Linked DNA regions of Homo sapiens: region 1 is linked to region 2. Evidence: promoter capture Hi-C in 16 types of primary human blood cells and fetal thymus (Javierre and others, 2016). All regions are on one chromosome and are shown on one strand. Each heading gives the region's core, a stretch centred on a gene start or on the middle of the fragment in contact. The rest is flanking DNA. Distances are from core to core; before and after follow the strand shown. Region 1 has its middle 72 kb from the start of KIFC3. Region 2 holds the start of ADGRG3 (adhesion G protein-coupled receptor G3).

What was found. The method cuts DNA at HindIII sites, captures the fragments that hold promoters and counts their contacts. A CHiCAGO score of 5 or more calls a contact.
Region 1: a contact is called between a fragment that was not itself captured here and the fragment with the promoter of ADGRG3 in region 2, in 1 of 17 cell types (megakaryocytes). The highest score is 5.1, in megakaryocytes.

Annotation. Positions count from the first base shown.
Region 1 is chr16:57,872,157-57,876,145 of GRCh38, forward strand. No RefSeq gene overlaps it. Among named protein-coding and RNA genes, the nearest start is that of KIFC3, 72 kb to the left of the region's middle. RefSeq lists an enhancer at 978-1,505. The HindIII fragment of the contact is 1,231 bases long and covers 1,085-2,315 here.
Region 2 is chr16:57,666,425-57,670,833 of GRCh38, forward strand. ADGRG3 (adhesion G protein-coupled receptor G3) reads left to right here and starts at 1,882. Exons shown (of 12, transcript NM_170776.5): 1 at 1,882-1,981. The coding sequence starts at 1,924. The HindIII fragment of the contact is 25,338 bases long and covers 1-4,409 here.

The DNA of each region.
Region 1 (3,989 bases), core at 450-2,949, 210 kb after region 2:
ACTCTCAGTTCTATCCTTTCAAGTAAATTTAGATTCAGGTGGAATGCAAAGTATTATCTCTGGTGCAAATTTTGTGGCTCATACTTCCTCCTGGCAGCTTGTTTTTTGTTGTTGTTGTTGTTTGTTTGTTTTGTTTTGTGGGTGCTGTTCATGACTAATTTGCCAAAAGTCATCCAATATATTATCATATTATCCTTCACTGAATTGAGGCCAATCTAATTTTTTTTTTGAGATAGGGTCTCTCTCTGTCCCCCAAACTGGAATGCAGTGGTACCATCACAGTTCACTGCAGCCTCGACTTCCTGGGCTCAAGCAATCCTCACACCTCAGCCTTCTGACTAGCTGGGACTATAGGCATGTGCCACCACCCCTGGCTAATTTTTATTATATATATATATTTGGTGGAGTCGGGTTTTCGCCATGTTACCTAGACTGGTATTGAACTCCTGGGCTCAAGTGATCCTGCTGCCTCAGCCTCTCAAAGTGCTGTGGTTACAGGTGTGAGCCAGCGCACCTGGCCCTGATTTTAAAACTTATTACTTACATTTGACTTATATGTGGAAGTTTTCCATGGTATCTGAATTATTCTTTTGAACCTGCCTGGAAACACTTCACGTGACCCTCTCCTCTACCCACTTTTCATTAAGGAACACTTGATTTCAGAAATTTGGAAATGCGGCTGGGTGCGGTGGATCATTTGAGGTCAGGAGTTCAAGACCAGCCTAGCCAGCATGGTGAAACACTGTCTCCACTAAAAATACAAAGATTAGCCGGGCGGTAGTGGCGCGCACCTGTATTTCTAGACACTCTGGAGGCGGAGGCAGGAGAATTGCTTTAGTCTGGGAGGCGGAGGTTGCGGTGAGCCAAGATTGCACCACTGCACTCAAGCCTGGGCGACAGAGCGAGACTCTGTCAAAAAAAAAAAAAAAAAAAAAAAGAAAAGAAAAAAGAAAGGAAGGAAGGAAGGAAAGAAAAGGAAGAAATTTGGAAATGTGAAAGGTGGGGACCCAGTCTCCCGAGACTCTTGATAATGCGCTCTGGAGCCATTTGTCTAGTTAACTGCCTTGATTAGAAAGGATCCTAAAGCTTCTCTCACCTCCCTCCGGGAGACGGCCAAATGGCCACAGCCGAGCCTAGGTCTCTTGGCTAGCTCCAAAATGCCGGGAAGACTCCGGCGCTATCTCCCTAGGTATTTATATGTCAAAGGGAGAAAGTCCCAGAACTTGAAGACCCCTCCAGGTGGTTAAAGCTGAGACACCTGGGGCTATCTCGTTCCGGGTGAGGCTTTATTTACATATCAAAGGGCTGGGGTTAGGTTTCGGGCCCATTAAGTTTCCAAGGAGACCCTTTCAAAAAGGGAGGGGAATAGCTACCTCCTTCGCCTTTATAAGCAGAGAAAACTTGTCCTTCATCTATGGAGTGTCAGGCTACTTGCACGGGACATTTCCTGGCCAGGAGTAAGGCTTAAGGGGAGGCTGGGAGCGGAGGCTATGTACTTATTATTTGCTAAAAGGTAATTAATATAAAATCTGTCTCTGATCCCAAACACCTGTGTGTGTGCATTCAGGATAAAATTAATAAAGATAAATATTAAAAAACCACTGGCAGGCCAGACGTGGTGGCTCACATCTGTAATCTCAACACTTTGGGAGGCCAAGATGAAAGGATTGTTTGAGTTAGGGAGTTCGAGACCAGCCTGGGCAACATAGGGAGACCCCCGACTTGTCCCCACCACCCCCTATCCCCCGTCTCTACAAATAGTTAAAAAAAAATAGCCAGGTGTGGAGGTGCATGTCTGTGGCAGGAGGATCACCTGAGTCCTGGAGGTCGAGGCTGCAGTGAGCTGTGATTGAACCACTGTACTCCAGCGTGGGTGACAGAGCAAGACCCTGTCTCAAAAACAAGAACAATGAAACACTGACAGGACAGGCTGGACGTGGTCGTACATGCCTGTAATCCCAGCAAGGAGGCAGAAGGATTGCTTGAGGCATGGAGTTCTAGACCAGTCTGGGCAACATAATGATACCCCATCTCTATAAAAAACAAAAACCACTAACAGCAGCCTGGGGTGGGTGCTTTCCCTCTTCCTCCACCAATCATGATTGGCTCTGGAGAAGGGGCATGCCAGGATGGCTCTGGCCCAAGGTTGGCCCTAGAGGGTGCAGCCCCAATTGCTCTGGGCAGGAGAGACACTCATCCTCACCTTGCAGAATTGCCAGATAAAAACACAGGGCACCAAGTTGAATTTGAATTTTGGATAAATAACAATTTTTTTTAGCATAAGTATATCCCAAGTATTGCATGAGATATACTTAAGCTTAAAAAAAAAAACCTTCATTGTTTATCTGAAATTCAAATTTACCTGGGCTTTCTGTATTTTTACTTGCTAAATCTGGAACTCAACCATGGTGACCAGGGAAGAGGACCCCCTGGAGATGCCAACACCTTATGCCCATTGAAAGAATAATACAAGGGCTAGGAGCAATGGCTGACGCCTGTAATCCCAGTACTTTGGGAGCCCAAGGTGGCAGGATCACTTGAGGTCAGGAGTTCGAAACCAGCCTGGCCATCATGGTGAAACCGCATCTCTACCAAAAATACAAAAATTAGCCGGAAATCACTTGAACTCGGGAGGCAGAGGTTGTAGTAAGCTGAGATCACGCCATTGCACTCCAGCCTGGGCAACAGAACAATACTCCATCTCAAAAAATAAATAAATTAAATAAGGGCACTCAGGCCGTCTTTCTTTTCATTTCAGAAGAGATATCGAAGGAGATAGTGCTCAGGAAATTGAATCTAGGAAATGTTACTCACAATTTTTTGGTTACAATGAGTTTATCAAGCATCCTTTGAATCTTCTTCCTTTTTTTTTCTTTTTTTTTTAACAGAGTCTTGCTCTGTCACCCAGGCTGGAGTAGTACAGTGGTGTGATCTCGGCTCACCACAACCTCCACCTCTCGGGTTCAAGCAATTCTCCTGCCTCAGCCTCCCGAGCATCTGGGACCACACACGCGTGCCACCACGCCCGGCTACTTTTTGTATTTTTAGTAGAGTAGGGGTGTCAGCATCTTGGCCAGGCTGGTCTTGAACTCCTGACCTCATGTGATCCACCCGTCTCAGCCTCCCAAAGTGCTGGGATTACTGCGCCTGGCCCTGAATCTTCTCATAACAACCTGGAAGGATTATTTTCTTCCTCCCAACTTAGGGATGAAACACCTGAGGCCAGAAAGTAACTAGAACAGTGTTTGGCACAAAGAAAGAATTTTTAAAAATATTTATTGAATGAATGAAAGTTACCCAGGTGTGATTTCACTGCAGGTTGGTGGCAGAAGCAGAACAGTGGCCTTCGGGTTCTTTTCTCATGGCTGTTTCTGTCTCTAGCCAAGGTGCTGATTCCCTGAGAATAAATCCCTTTGCTGTCTTAAGTTTGAATTTTCTCATCTATTATTTGGGTCTGATCATTTGCTTCTTGATCACGCAGCAGCGTGGACAAGACTATCTGAATGGGGAAAAAGTTTCCAAAGCCCTAAAGCACTGTCACCTTTGTTCTCGGTCCAGTAGTAAAAGGCAGCAATGAGGCAGGGCGTCCAAAGGGTTATTGATGAGGAGGTTTCTGTCCCAGGGGGCTTTGCTGTGGTGTCAGGACAGTGAGGGAGCTGGGAAGTACCTAGGGGGCATGAGGCTTGATGCTCCAGTTCTCCTTGCTGGTGAATCACTCTCTCGCATTGGGCTGGCCATCCACAGACAGGTGTTTGAATTTCATCTTGGTCAAAACAGCCCCCTCAGCCAGGCATGGTGGCACATGCCTGTGATCCCAGCACTTTGGGAGGCCAAAGTGGGCACATCACCTGAGGTCAGGAGTTTGAGACCAGCCTGGCCAATGTGGTGAAACTCTGTCTCTACTAAAAATACAAAAATTAGCTGGGCATGGTGGTGGACGCCTGTAATCCCAGCTACTCAGGAGACTGAGGCAGAAGAATCACTTCAAC
Region 2 (4,409 bases), core at 632-3,131:
CTGTGGGGCTTTGGACAGTGGGATCGCCCTTTCTGCCAGCATGTGGCCAGGCGTGCATCTGGAAACATCCCTTTAGCTTGGGAAATGGATTGGAGCAGCTGAGGGCTGAATGCTGGCTGGGTCTCGCTGGAGGACTTGAGGCCCTGCCCACTGGAGCCATTGGGAGAAGCTGGGGCAGGAGGCGGCAGGAAGGGACACTACTGTTTTGTTGGCCCTGGGGTTGGGGGGGGTCTCAGGGTTCTGTGAGTGGCTCCAGGCTAGTCCCTGGTCCCCAGGGGGCGTTTCAGGGAAGGGGCCTTAGGAAAAGGTGGCCCTCCTTCCAGCCCTGCCTGACCTTCCCCTGCACCTGCCCTCTGCCCACTTCCCAGGTGGGCTGGCTGCTCGGAATCTCAGTCTGCTCACCCCCAGGCGCTTCTTCACACACTGGTACCTGCGAGCCTCTCTGAGGGCCCAGGTGCCAGGATGGGGCTTCAGCGATGGGCCCAGCACATCCAAGTCCACTGCCCCACCTCACCCTCACCTGCAGCTGGGAGGGAGGTCTGCAGATCTTCCAGGAGAAGGCTGGCCAGGTGTGGAGCAGTGGCAGGCCCAGCCATTCATCTGCCTTCGCAGCCCTCCCTGCAGAGGAAGTTTCTGGGGCTCAGGAAGCCCTGGGCTCTGACCTGCTGCTCCATGCTGAATTCCCACCTGCTCCCACACCATGAGTGACCCTGACATCCCCTCCCTACCCCTTCCCAGACCCAGAGGGCTCAGCAGGAGACACTGAGTGGGAGGAGGAGGAAATGGAGGCCAGCAGGGGCTGAGCGGCTCCCCAGTTCAATCCCAAGGCTGAGTAGGGCTAGTGCCAGCCCCGTGGGCCAGAGGGGGATGCCAGCAACCACACACCTTGGTGGGATGCCCTTCACCTTCCAATTGCCAAGTGGCCATGGCCTCATGCACAGTGCATCCGTGGGGCCTCCAGAGTTGGCCCGAGTGGCTGGCGCCCTAATTCCTTTAGGCTGAAGCCCAGGAGTGTTTGCCACCCCCACCTCCCACCTGATCAGTGACCATTTGGGGTGTAAAGACAACAATTTCACAGCTCTGATGATCAGAAATGATGTAATGGCCACAGGCGGCTCCGCCTGCGTCATCCATGATTTCATCACACACCTCGGGAGGCTCAGGGTGACAGACAGTGCATGCAAGGTCACCCGGCCAGGAAGTGGCCAGGATGGATGTTAGCTCAGGCCTGACCAGCCCCCGGGGCCGCACTGCTGTCTTCCCGCTACCCTGCCTCTGGGTCCGTCCTGTTATCCAGGCTGGTGGGGGAAGCTCAGGCTGCAGGGCCAGCTCCTGCTCTCCTCCCACACCCTCCAGCCTGGTTCAAGCCATAGGCACCATCTGGGTCTTCGTCCTCATGCCCAGAGCCAGGCTCTGTGCCCAGCTTGTTGCAGGTCTCATCAAACCCTGACACAGCCTTAGGAGGCAGCCCCATTGCCATCTTCACTTTACAGAGGAGGAAACTGAGGCTCAGAGAGGCTCCCAGCTTGTGAGAGGAGGGGTCTGAGTAGGTGCGCCTGACTCCAAAGCCTGTGCTCACCACAGTTCCCAGGGATCCGCTCTGAGCCAGGCCCCTGTGGCCACCCAGCCCCTAGCCCCGTAGATCCCACCCCAGTGGGGCCCCGGGGGCACATACCTGGGTGGGCTCAGCAGCTCCCTCTGCAGGTGGACCCAGGGTGCGGTGAGACTGGGAGCACTGCCCAGTTCCCCACACTCACCTTTCACAACCCAACCAATGGCGCCATCGAGCAGGAAGGGTGAGAAAGAGGACACAGGAAGCCAGAGTGGTGGGGCTGCAGGGTGGGGGCAGGCCAGCTCAGCAGAGCCTGGGGCCAGAGGGCCAGACAGCCACAGAGCTCCTGGCGTGGGCAAGGCTGGCCAAGGATGGCGACGCCCAGGGGCCTGGGGGCCCTGCTCCTGCTCCTCCTGCTCCCGACCTCAGGTGAGTGGCTGGCACCTCATCCCCTCCTGCCACGCTGGGCCGACCCTGCCCTGCCGAGGGAGGGATCCAGGGACAGACGCAGGGACTGGAGAAGGTGAGGAGTTGGGGTGTCTGGGATGTGTCCTCCGATACCCCCCGTGGCCGCCTCAGCACCTTCTCTAGCCCTGTCCCTTTGGGTCAGTCCTGTCCTTCCACTAAACCTTGCTCAGGACTGGTCTCAGGTTCCCTTTGTTGCTCCACAGTGCCCTGGAGATAGGGGAGGTCGGAGGGTGCTCCCTGACTCCCCAACCTGGGCTGTGTCTCCCTGACAGGCCTGGCTCTGAGACAGGGGTTGGCCCCGGGCAGGCAATTCTCCAGCTGGCTTGTGAGATCCTGGGGACGGGATTCAGACACTCTGGAAGCTGAGGCCAGGAAGGTCTGTCACCTCGTTCTTCTGGACCTCTCCTCCCGCACATGTCACCCCACACCGGCTCCCTCTCCCAGTCTCAGCCACAACCTCTTGGTCCTCAGTGGCCTGAGCCAGGATCCACACTCCTCCCCGTCACTCTCCCGTCTCACACACAAACACATGGTGCGTCTCCAGAGGCCATGGAAGTGCCCGGGCCTTGCCTTTGCTGGCCTCTCTCCCAGGAAAGCTGTCCCCCTACCCCTTGCCCACTTAGCCAGCTCCATTTACCCTTCTTGGCCTCTGTGGCGTCTTAGCAACCCTCTCGGACAGAGGGAGGTGCTCCCCCGTTAGTGCTCCCTCCTCAGTGCTCCTGTCTCAGGGCCTTGCAGGCCACTCTCTTTTTGCTCCTGACTCGGTGAGGGGCCTGCATGTCCATCTCCCTGTGTGTCCAGCGTGTGGTCGCGTGACTTTGGCCACATAGATCAACTTATTTGGTCTTCAAATAACCCTCTTCTTTTCAAACATTGGAAGATTCAGTGGAGTGAATCAGTCCCTGGCTCAAAAAAGGGTGGGAGATGACAGCACTGTCCTCCTAGTGGCCCCGGGAGGCCCTGGTACAGAGCAGGCCACCAGGCAGCCCTTGATAGATGAATGAACGGAGCCACCGATGGCAGCTGTGACCAGGGCTCATGGGCGTCCTCAGGTCCCAGCTGTCATCGCTGGTTGGGCCTTCAAGCCTCCTCCAGGTGATGCTGTTTCCCCCATGGTGATGTGGGTGCTCTGGTTGGGGCAGAGCAGCAGCCATTTGATTGAGCAAGGAGCTCTGAGAGGTCTACACACAGGAAGGTCTGCACACTTCCTGTGTGGACAGTGATGTGTTAGTCTCCATTCTCCATTTGCGCATTCATTCATTCATTCATTCATTCAGGAAGCATCGATGGTGCCCTCTGCTCCTGCTGGTACCACTTGGCCCCTGCCCTCAAAAGGCTCACAGTCTGCAGGAGTGACACAGTGTGGTGGGGGCTCGCATGTGAGACCCAGCTGTTAGGGCTGAGCAAGGGGTGGATGCAATGGAGGGCCTGGCATGAAGGGACACGTGACAAAGGTGCGGGCAGGGCACGGGGAGCAAGGAGGGTGGTCACTGGGCAGGCTGGCACCTGGGGCAGCCTTCAGCACCGTGAGGTCTAAAGGGGCCAGGAGGGAGTGGCCCCCTGGGCTTCTACAGCCAGACTGTGGCTACAGGAGGGAAATGGCGGTGGTTTGCTCACGGTGAGCCAGCAGGGGCTGAAGGAGCCATGCGGGGTGGGGGCAAATGCCCACTCTGCCCTCCTCCTGCCCTCTGACCTCCAGTCCACTTTCCACTTGCTGACCCCCAAATGAGGCAGTCCATGGAGGCCAGGCTCTGGAGCATAGAGGGTCTGGAGAGGAGGGGAGTGCTATCCCACCCACAGGCCTAGCACAGGGTCTCCTTGTCTACATGAAATGCTTGCAGTGTCTTCAAAGAATAAACACAGAAAAGATATTTAATGATCCTGTCTGTGTAGGGTGCTTGCCAAGAGCTTCACTTACATGCCTGCGCTGAAATTCATGGCAATCCGGGAGGGAGGCCTGCACCTGGACCCATTCATGACAGCAGGGCCGGGATGGCAGAGAATGGCACCCGTCCTCAAGCTGACAATGTTATCTCCCCTCCTCTCCTGTCCTCTTCCTTCCCCTCTCAACCCCTCCTCCCCTCTCCTCTCTTCCCTCTCCCTGTTTCTGTCTTCTTCCTCCTCTCCCTCTTCTCCCCTTTTTTAAAAAGCCAACATAGATCATACTATATTCATGCTCATCTATCATTTTCATTTCCCATTAAACAATGCATCATAAATATCTTTATAAACTAACAGAAATTTACAGTTCCTTTATAAACTATCTAAAACGAATTATCACATATAGAGTCCATTATTACAAAATCCCCTCTAAAATGTTATTTTTTTACCCTGCTGTTACTCTTTATTCAGCCATTATTTTTATCATGTCTTTTTTGTCTTAATGATT